2 separate regions of the Homo sapiens genome follow, and region 1 is linked to region 2. The links are contacts of gene promoters, found by promoter capture Hi-C in blood cells and fetal thymus (Javierre and others, 2016). All regions are on one chromosome and are shown on one strand. Each heading gives the region's core, a stretch centred on a gene start or on the middle of the fragment in contact. The rest is flanking DNA. Distances are from core to core; before and after follow the strand shown.

Region 1 (5,279 bases), core at 2,762-5,261, 120 kb before region 2:
AACTTCTCTGCTAAAAAAAAACAATTTAAAGATGAAGGGTTTAATTCAACCTAAAAATATCTTAGGACAGGCATTTAAGAGCTCAGAGACAGTAAACACTTCCTCAATGCTACAGCCATAACTAGACAGTCATTTTAATGCACTGAAAGAAAAATGGTTTTTTTCAAAAAGAGCACCTTGATAATGCCAATCCATGCCAAGGCTTTTATGAAAAGCCAAAGCAGATTAACAGCCTGTTTTGTTGTTTTTTTTTTTGAGACAGGGTCTCACTCTGTCACCCAGGCTATACAGAGTGCAGTGGTGTGACTGCGGCTCACTGCAGCCTCGACCTCCTGAGCTCAAGCAATCCTCCTACCTCAGCCCCACAGGTAGCTGGAACCACAGTTGCATGCCCCAATGCCCGGCTAATTTTTTGGTAAAGATGGAGTCTAGCTATGTTGCCCACGCTGGTCTCGAACTCCTGAACAGTCTGGTGTTATACTAGTTGGTGCACTAGTACCTGACTAAAATCTAGCTAATCAATACCTAGGAAGTGAGACAGGATACTGTTCTCCTGGAGGCTAAAATTATTACTAAATACTTCTAAACTTTTCTGTTCCCCTATGGTCCTTCACACTTATTTTCTCCCATCCCATTATTCTGTATACAAACTCTCAACATACATGTTTGAAGTTCAATGCAAAACACATGGAAACAAAGTGCTATGCAAAATTGATTAAGCTGCCAAAAGCAGGAGATATTTCTCTCTTCACATGGGCCTGCAGATTATGCTCTAAAGCAGTGTCTCACTGTCTGCTGGCTACACAACATTATCCTCCCACTCCTTCTATGCCCTCCCCTGTACTGCAGAAGATGGAAGCCTGGGAACTACATTCTCCTCATTCTCTAACAAGGGGTCTGGGTTTGAGTCCGCCACTGAGAAGCTGTCACATGAGTTTTACAAGGTGAAAGGGAGAGATGCGATGCTACTACTATCCTAACAGGAACAGGCAGGTAAATGAGCTTTAAGACATGAAATTCTACAAGTCTCCCCACATCTCCAGGCAAATCACCACTTTAATGTTGAAGGTAGCTGTGATCATCTCTAGCTACTTCCTGCAGTTCTAGCAACTTTGTGACTCTCTGAAAACTAGTGGCATAGATCTGAGCTCATGGAAGCACCTAATCCCCTCTATTCCATTCCTTCCTCCTTGAACCTGGAGTAAATTCTAGCTTATGTAAGCAGCACCCAACAAACAGACAAGAAAAAAAATACTCTAAATACCTCATAATTCTGTTTCTGCTGTTTCTGAAGTGCCAAGGATTCTTCTATGGAGAGCAGCTGCGTGGGCATATGGTGAAGTGGTAGAAGCCGAGCTGCTGTGATGTCATCAAGATGCTGCTTATCCCTGCGCCGCCGCTCTTCTGAGGAAATAGGAGACCCACTCTTCTGGCAATGACTAGATGAATCATTTTGTCGAAAAGGTAACCTGATGAAAGGAAAACTTGTGTTATACAATCAGATTATTTTATTTGTAGACACATTTAAAACATTCACACAAATGGCCTTTACCTTAGCAATTAATTCTCCTCCAAAGGTAACAGTAAGTAATTTACCAGTATTCATTGCTCTAACAAATAGGGGTGTGTTTGTGTGCATACAGGCTCTTTGCCTTTTCCTTCCTTATTCAAACCTTGTATTTCATCTGGAGTTTTTTTTTTTTTTTTCATTTATTCAAAGAACATTTGCAAAAGGGCTTATTGCCCAGTAGAAAGAAATACACATGTAAAGTTTCAGTGCAATACAATACCAGAGATACTGTGATAGATATCTCAACAAGATACATTGGAACATAAGGAAATGGCCAGTTCTAGTGGGAGACAGGGAGGCTAAGAAAAGTTTCAAAAAAGCTTTGAACAGTCTTGGAATAATAACTGCTTACCCATGTAAATAAGGAGAGAAGTGCATCCCAGCAAGGGGAGTGAGAGAAAGTACAGAAGGTAGACAGACTCAGCTTTTCTGGCTACACAGAAAAGACAGCGAGAAAGAGGGCTGGGAAGTAGCCTAGGCCCAGACTGCAATGAAGAGTTCTCCGTAACAAGTTCGGATTTCCATCTTACAAATTTCACTCTGGCAGCAGTGGAGATAGACTGGTAGTTAAGACTAGAGGTAGAAGGGGCCACAATTACAGCCCGAGAGAGATGAGAGTCTTCACTTCGACAGAAGATGAAGAACAATTATAGAGATGAAGATCAAAGAAATAAGTAGGTCTTCATGGCTAGCAGATATGGAGATGAGAAAAATCGAAGATACCTTAGGGGAAGAAAACCGAGAAGGTGGTGGCACTATTAGGGAATATGGAAATCACCTTGGAAAGAAACTGCAGTTCCACTTTGTACATCATTAAGCTGAGGTACCTGGGAACACCCAAGTGATCAAGTTTCATGGTTAATTGGCTATGCAAACCTAAAGTTCTGGGAAGATCTGGGATAGAGGTGCACAGGGGTCAGCCTCCAGCATCCAGGTGATACATGAAGCCAGAAGAGTATGCAGAAGGAAGAGCAGAAAGGACCCAAAGGACACTACCTGACCCCACCTTCCAACCTCCAAGCCACCTCTCACACGGAACCCTCTCAATCCCTACCTGTCTATGGCCTAAGGACTCCTCAAAGCCCTGCCTTTCCTGTTCTCCTCTAACTTATACAGGAGGCTCCCTGTCTCTTAAACTTCCTGAATTCTTGGTAGCCCTCTTCACTATTCCCTTACCTCTCTCCCACTCCCAGCTAAATGACCATAATACAGAACTGGGATTAATGTATTCTTTGTTTTATTTATTGACTAGATGATGGTTCTAGTTTTCTAAAATGTCATCCTGGAAGTGAAGAAAGATACCCCACTGTACACAAGAGAGTACTTGATCACGTTAATGTAGTATAATCCTGATTTTCTATACAGCAGAAATAAAATGTTTTGAGGTTAAAATGAATGCTGGGGTAGAATTAAAGTCTAACAAAAAAGAAGCATGTTTTAGATACTTTTCACTAGAGGTTTTCTGTTTTTCAAAGAAAGGTAGTAGTGATTTAACTTTGATGTTACATACTTGTAAATACAATATAGGAAGAAGGTACCAGTTACCTGAGTTGAATGTTACATTTGCTGCAAGTAAATAGCAATTATTTTCAAAAAGATTTTACTTTTCCTGAAATTTCAGAAACAAATTTATGGCAAGGAACTGATAAGCAGAGTTTTTGCCTATCCTGCCTGAATCTATTTTCACAGTTTTTCAAACCTCTTCTCAGCTTCCTTCCCCCTGAAACTGTTATTATTATGTAGCTTAACTCTTTTCCAAGTGTGTAAACCTTGGGTCCTCATGTAGCTCTTAAACTCCTTGAAGAACATGGTATTGTATTACATTACACATGTATACATTACAGCCATGTTTTTAAACTTGAGATTTAACATCAAAAAAGGCAAAGGAGTTTTAAGAATCTTGACTTAATTGTGTCCCCACAACACCTGCTGCTTGCTTACATACAGTGAGCATGCAAATAATTTCTGCTGGAAAGCCCATCAGCTCCTGCAATTGCTTTACCCTTAGTTCACAGACTAATCAAAGAGAGTACACTTTGATAGTACACTAATCAAAGCTGTACACTAAAAAATGGTTCTGAAAAAAAGAAGTCATAATAAATTCTCTCCAACTCTGTGTTTATTATGAAATACTGGCTAAGCATCCTAAAATTTAACACTCCCCCATGTGCTTTAAAAGACCTTGTCGATTATTTGGTTTCAAAACTAAATATTTTTCAACATGAATCTTCTACTCCGGCCAGGCTGGTCTCAGTGTTGCCACAACATGTTATTTCCTAACTACAAGTAGTTCTCATACAAAGCCCACGGAACTTAGAGCATTCTCCTGACTTATTTAAGAGAAAAGGTCTTATTATATTGCCCAAGCTGGTCTACAACTCCTGGACTCAAAGCTGTCTTCCCACCTCAGCCTCCTGAGTAGCCTGGGACTACAGGCAAGCACCACCACACCCAGTTTCTCGTAAATTTTTGAGTTTAACAAATATCACGTTCCTGTTACAGGCCTGTTTCCGAGGGTACTTACACATTGGTTTTAAATTTACGCAGCTGGGGCACTGGGTTTTTGGCTCGCATTTCTAGCACTTCCATGTAATGAGGTTTCTTCTCAGTCCCACTGGAAAGGCCTGTCAAGTTCTTAGTACTTGCGTTTTCTTCTGACTGTTGTTCACCTTGGTCCGCAATGGTGATCCTCTGTAACCTGTCAATAAACAGGTTGTCAAAGCTGCTGGAAGTATCTTCCGCTTGACTTGAAACACGATGCCGCGGGTGATGCTCACTAGCTTCAGATGAAGGTGGTACCCTGTCTCTATTGCTGGAAGCTGGGCCCTTATTCACTGTGTACTCAACCTCTGAAGTCTCTTCATCACCTTCAAGAGTAGGACGTCCAAGTCCCTGGTTTTGTGAGGTTTGAGATGACTTGATGTTATCTACAGAGGAACATCCAGGAACTAGTGATGAAGTATCAAGTATCGGGTCAGAATTCTGGGCCTTATCTGTACCCACATCAACTTCTGCAATTGCTTTTTGCCTTAGCTTACAGTCTAAACTAACAGGGTTAAACAGTTCACTTTTTCTTCTAACTTCTTCACATTCTGCAATGGCAGCTTTCAGTTTGGCAAAAGAGTCAAAGATCTTTTTACCTTTGTCGGGCAATTTGCAAATGAATTTTCTGTCAAATGGAAAAGAATACTATTACATTACAGCCATTTTTTTAACTTGAGATATAACATTAAAAAGGCAAGGCATTATCTTCAAAGAAAGAAAAGCTGATTTTTAAGTCAAATATCTGATTTCTAACTGCCCCAAAACAAGAATAAAACAATTAAAATGGTCATTATCCAAATAGCCCAAAAAACAAGGGAATGCAGGAAGAATAGGGAATATATGCCTCATTTGTCTCAGCAAATTAGAATTTCAGCAAAAGTATTTTAAGCATATAATAATCACATAAGACATTCCAAGAACCAGCAGTCATTAAAGTGCAATCTCCAAAATTTGGGGATGGGGTGGAGTGTGGGGATGGGCCTATTAGGTCAAAACTACTTTCATAATAATACTAAGATATTATTTCCCTCTCATTTTCTCGCATGGGTACAGTGGAGTTTTCCAGAGGCTACATGGCATGTGATGACATCATTGTTCTAGAATAGAATGTGTGCTTGTGTATGCTTATGTTTTAAAGACTTCAGACGTATTTCTGATAAGTAAA
Region 2 (5,680 bases), core at 28-2,527:
TACACAACCTAAGTGTCTGGTGAGTGCACGCACACACACACCCCAGAATCCATCAGTTGGCCCATGCCCAAGAGTAACACACCTTTCTTCTAGAGCTAAGAAAGACAGCTTATAAGGTGACCACCATCACTCGCTTAAGGCATGTAAAAGCAAATAAGCAGGTCCAAGCCTGCACGCAGACAGAACCAGTGGGGGTTTTGCTTTGGACTTAACCACCTGTTTAAATCTTGAGGAAACACGATTACAGAAGTCTCAATCAGAGCAAAGAGGTACCAAATGATAAGTATTGAACATCATGATAAATGGAAGAACTAAAAAGCCACAAGCCAAGCCCCTGGCTGTGGCTCTAAGGTGCTGACCGTGTTAGAAAGATGGAGCATTTCTTTTACAGAGCATCTGGAGAGATGGGAAAAGATGCCACAAAGATCAAAAAGAAACAGCACTTCCAAAGGGAAACCTTCCCTGGAGATGCTGTCCCAAGCTTTCAGTGCTGCCATTGTTGTCACTGTGCTAATATTTAAATCAGACAGAAGAAAGTGGTTTACATAAACCGGAGTCCCACACAGTCGGGCTCCTGGGCGGCCGGCTGCTGTTCTGGTTTGCCCACCTTGGCTAACCCCACTCCAGAATTACCCTATCACTAGTGGATACCCTATCACTAGTGGACACAAGTGACCCCATCTTTCTTTTAATTAATGGAAGAAGGAAAGTTTGAGTTTTAAATACATTCATTACTTTTGAGTCTCAAGGTAGGGACACTGCACAAATGTCTTCCTTCATTTTTAAACTGGTGCCGCCAATAAACTCGGCTTGACAGAAAGGCAGGAAGGAGAGGAAATCTCTGGGAATTCCATAAAGTCCCCTAAGCCCTCTCCTACCAGCTGGTGGGCCCCCTGAAACCTCAAGCGGGAGGGTCACTGCCAGAGCCGGCACAGGACCGGGGAGTTGAGCCCAGGGTGGGGCGTCGGGGCCAGGTGCTGGCTCCCGAGCTTTCCCATCCCTAGTCCCCTCTAGAGGGGGCGGCCGGGATGGGGGAACGGGACGGCGGCGGCTCCCGCCCCCGCTACTCACCCTCCTGCTGGGCGCCCCGGGCGTCCTGGCGGCGCCGCCCGAGAGCAGGGTGACCGTGGACGTGGAGCGCAGCATCCCGCAGCGGCGGTCGGTAGCGGGCTGGACGCCGGCGTTCCTCCCGGGCAGAATAAGCGTGCGGGGCCCGCCCTGCGCGGGGGCGACGCGGGACGGCGCCGGCTACTTGCAGCCTCAGCTGCACCGCGAAGGCCCGGGGGTGGGGCCGGGGGCGGGGCCGGGCCGGGCCGGGGCGGGGCCGAGCGCGCTCACCCGACCCGTCAGGCTGCATTTTCTCCCGAGGGCGCCGACCCGGTTAAAGTTGAGCACCATCCTCTCCCAGGGCGCTGCGCCCTCCCAGGGTCAGTCCCAGGGCAAGAAGGAGCCCTGGACAGCCTGGACGCCCATGCTCTCTCTGTCCCCCGCAGAGTTGAGATCCACCTGCCCATTCAGTCTCACGACCTACCCCCACCCCGGACTGCCCCCTACAGCCTCTGCACGCCCTCGTATCACTGGGACCCTCACCCCATGTCATTCATTCAGTATTTCCTGAATGCCTATTATGCGTCCCCACCAGCAGCCAACCCAGTCGACTGGCTGTTGGCCTCGGAGAGTTTGCAGTGTGGTGGGGATGACAGGTGCCGGGCTGTGGTAGAAGAGGAGATACCATGTACTAAGGGAGCACACAGCCAACCTCAGAGGAGGTGATGACTAAGCTAAGACCTGAAATGCAAGTAGGAGTGGGCCACACTGCCCATATTTATTCAATGATTACTGTGGGCCTGCCTGGCGAGCACTTTGCGTGTGTTACCTCATTTAATCCTCACCATTGCCCTTTGAGGGAGTCACTGTTGTTACCTTGTATCCCCATTTTGCAGATGAAGACGCTGACTCACCTAGGGATTGAGCAACACAGCAGGCGACCCACTGGCCTCTCAGTGGCAAAGGTAGGATATGAATCCCCCAGTCCGACCCTAGTGCCTTGCTTGTCCCCTCTGCTGTCCCCTAACAGAGGGAGGAGGGAGTCCCAGGTCAAAAGAACTAGCATGCACAAAGATGGAAGGAAAGCAAGGGAAGGTATAAAATATGTTTCAAGAATTGGAAGTATCACAGTGCAGTGGGAAAACAGTGGAGAAGCAGCGGAAGGGAGCTGAGGACATCATGAGGAACCTGTGTGCTTAGCTGGAAATTTGGCCTTTATCTTGAGGACAAAGTGTTTTTCAGCAGGGAAAGACACAATCTCTGTCTTCAAAGCCCAGGTCAAGCACTGCCTCCCCACGGAGCTCTCCAGAAACCCCTTCCCCAAACACGCATGCTCAGGAACTTAGCAGCTCCGCGGGACCCTGTCTTCTGTTAGAGTTATCTATGTGTGTGCCTGTACCCTGTCCTTCTGGAGGGCAGAGGCCAGGCCTTGACCCTCTCTGAATGCCCAATGGCACCAACAGGGAAGATGCTGAAAAAAAAATGTTGCTAAACAGAATTACAGATGATCCTGTGGAACTCACTCCTTTTGTAGATGAGGAAACTGAGGCCGGTGTATACAAGTGACTTTCCCAAAGTTGCACAGCCTGTTCTTCACCATCCTCATCGTCATCCTCACAGTAGCTGTGCTTGTGTCCTAAGTGCTTTATATGCATTTTCTCAACCAATTCTCACAATGCCCCACAAGGTGGGCTACAGTTATCGCCCCTGTTTTGCAAATGAGGAAACTGAGGCCAGAGACATTAGGTTAATTGGTGAACAGCTGAGACTACACATCTAGTCTTCTAACCCAAGTCCTTCTGCTTTTCTGCTACACTCCTCTCTGCATCCTCCCATCCACCTATCCCTTCCAAAAAGAAAATTGTTCATGACAGGTTCCTTCCCATTCCACTTCCACGAAGCCCTCTAATCTACCCAAGTCTTTTTCATATTGTTAACATCCTATTCACACGGTGTTATATTTCTTTACAAAAGCAGCAGACAGCTCACTAGCTTGTGAGCTCTGTGTAGAAGCTGGATCTTGTTTACATCTCTGCCTGTCCAATATCTAGAGCAGGTAATTGACGTGTGGTAGTGCAAGTAAATGTGGAAAGAATGAAGAAATGTTATTACAGAGTAAGATTTCAACTCACTCATGGTCATGAAAAACAGAAACTAAGATCCTTGCCAACCCAGCTCCTAGGGTGGGCCAGGGACTCCAAGCAATTTGGCAGCTGAAGCAACAAGAGCCCCAGGGTTGTCCCAGCCAGGCCATTTCCCCAAAGCTGGCTGACAATCGCCAAGGGCTGTGGGTGGTGTGTCCAGGCAGATGCCAGGCCCTGGCTTATGCCACAGCTCCTCCCTAATAGGCCAGCACTAGGAATCTGAGGTCATAAGGAACTGCAAGAGAGAGGAGAGTGGGGAGCCCAGAAAGTGGGAAAGAAGGAAAATGGGAAGACAAGTAGGACTGAAATCAATGGAAAAGTGGATCTAGAGTGGAGAGGAAAAAGTAAAAAATGAAGTCACAGTCACTGGTTTCCATTAATATTTCTGAGAGAAGATGATTTTTAAAAAAAGATGGACTCTTTTCAAAAGAGGAATCAAAAGCTGAGAACTTCTGCCCAGTCAGCAGTCCTCTGGAGTCTACAGAACTGAGAGTGGGGAAGAGGGCCAATGGGAGGGGAACAGGGATAAGGGTCTGGTGTAGAAGTTCTCCACATTCCCTTGCAACATGACTCATCTACTCCAGACCCTCTGAGCATTGGTGATGAAGGGGTTGCTAGTGTTTGGGCTGGAGAGAACGGGAGCTATGACAAAACTGTCTTAGCTGTCATCCTTTTCTATCCACAGAAATAGCCACATAGGCCTAAGAGCAGTCCTGAATTTCTCTGCTAAAGCACAGGTGTGTAGAAAATTCCAGATGTCTGTATAAGCACCCTTCATTTTCTTGTAATCAGTTACTGAATTTTACCTCCTTCTCCCATCCCAGTTCCTAGAATTATCTTTCATATCCTCTAGGTCTCTGCTTCTGAATTGTCTTTGTTGCTTTCTGCTAAACTCTTTCCAAATTCCATTGGCATCTTTAGTTGAGAGGCTTATGATAGGACCCTTTTCTCCAGCAAAGTCCTGAGCAGCAATGACTCATTATTTCTTGCACAAATGATCAAGAGTTAAATCACTGGACAAGAGCACACAGTAGATGAACCCAAGCAATTCTGGCCCTCCTGATATTTCATGCCCTCTTCACTCTTATATCTCTGAAGCTTCTCTTTCTTTCTCTCCCATTCAGCTGCGACAGCATCCCGAAGTCCTGGCATATTCTCCCATTCTGCATGCCAAACAGACCAAACTTTCACAATAGAAAAAGGACACATTTCCAACCAAGGACAAGGGTAATACATTACAAAGCCCCTTTGGATAAAGTAGAACAAGAAACACCCCATATTCACAGGTTGTCCGAGAAACAGGGAATGGGGCCTAGAGATAAGAAAGGCAGGCTGAAAGGAACCCAAAACCCCAGCCAAGTCATCCAGATACACAGCAGTTATAGGCCTGTCTAGACACAAGGGCTGGAACCACTTGCTGATCCACCCTGGGGAATACAAGCTCATTGGAAATCATTCTGTTGTCTCGCCAGTTAACCCAGTGAACCAACAGGCAACTGGCAGAGTAATAATAAGCCAATTCATGGAACAAATATGTACCAAGCACCTACTGTGTACTGAGCACTGGGGACTGAGGTGAGTAAGACAGCCCCTGTCTTCTAGGAGTTCACAATCAAACCAGGAAGAGAGATGTGCACTTAGCAAATAAAATGACAGCTAACACTTTTATATGGCACTTACTGAGTTCACAAAGCTTAAAATGCATCAACACATTTAACTGTCGCAGCAACTCAGTGAGGAAAGTAGTATTATGTCCCTTACTTTGCAGATGAGAAAATGGAGCGGCAGGGAGGTTAAGTAACTTGCCCTTGGTTCCAGCACTAGTAAGTGGTTAAGCTAAGCTTCAACCCCAGGCAAGATGGCTCCAACATCTGCATACTTGACAATTCACCTCCTCTACTGGGATAGGGGCCAGATTTGAGGTGTGTCCAGAGCACTTATGGTAGGCAGGAGGGAAGCTGCTTGGGCAGAGAACAGTGAAGGCTTCCCTGGGAAGGTGGCATAGGAGTTGTTGGACACGAAGAATGAGGAGGAAAAGGTAAGCGCATTCCAGACAGAGGAGCTGGAAGAAATAGTGGGTCGGGGGATGTGGGAAATGCATGTTAGCCAGTTCTGCTTGAACTTCAGGGCAGGAGGGAATGGCCAGAGACAAGTAGGGTGGGGTTAGATTGCAAATGGACTTGAATAAAATTGAGACTTAATAGCAGATTATGAGCTCTTAAAGTTTTGCAATTAGTGCAGTGATATGATCAGATTTGTATGAAGAAAGATGGCAGGCAGCAAAGAAAGGAGTAAGGATGGCAGACAGAGCCTGGAAGGCAAGTACTTTGGAGTGCACTGGAAGTGTGGCCATGACGTAAAGAGGCTCTGCACTAGGGCAGTCGGTGGCAGTGGAATAGAAAGGAGGGGATGGATTCAAAAGGCAGAAAATCCACAGAACTTCATGACCAACCAAAAGCTGGAGGATTTTTGTAGGCCACCCCAGTGAA

The links. The method cuts DNA at HindIII sites, captures the fragments that hold promoters and counts their contacts. A CHiCAGO score of 5 or more calls a contact.
Region 1: a fragment that was not itself captured here is called in contact with the fragment with the promoter of GCOM1 in region 2 in 2 of 17 cell types (naive CD4 T cells and naive B cells); the score reaches 7.3 in naive CD4 T cells.

What each region holds. Positions count from the first base shown.
Region 1 is chr15:57,708,174-57,713,452 of GRCh38, reverse strand. GCOM1 (GCOM1, MYZAP-POLR2M combined locus) reads right to left here. Exons shown (of 17, transcript NR_104371.3): 15 at 4,095-4,739; 16 at 1,265-1,469. It overlaps POLR2M (RNA polymerase II subunit M), which reads right to left. Exons shown (of 4, transcript NM_015532.5): 2 at 4,095-4,739; 3 at 1,265-1,469. Among named protein-coding and RNA genes, the nearest start is that of POLR2M, 4.1 kb to the right of the region's middle. The HindIII fragment of the contact is 4,237 bases long and covers 1,893-5,279 here.
Region 2 is chr15:57,587,501-57,593,180 of GRCh38, reverse strand. GCOM1 (GCOM1, MYZAP-POLR2M combined locus) reads right to left here and starts at 1,277. Exons shown (of 17, transcript NR_104371.3): 1 at 1,072-1,277. It overlaps MYZAP (myocardial zonula adherens protein), which reads right to left and starts at 1,277. Exons shown (of 13, transcript NM_001018100.5): 1 at 1,072-1,277. The coding sequence starts at 1,146. RefSeq lists a silencer at 1,279-1,388. The HindIII fragment of the contact is 3,808 bases long and covers 484-4,291 here.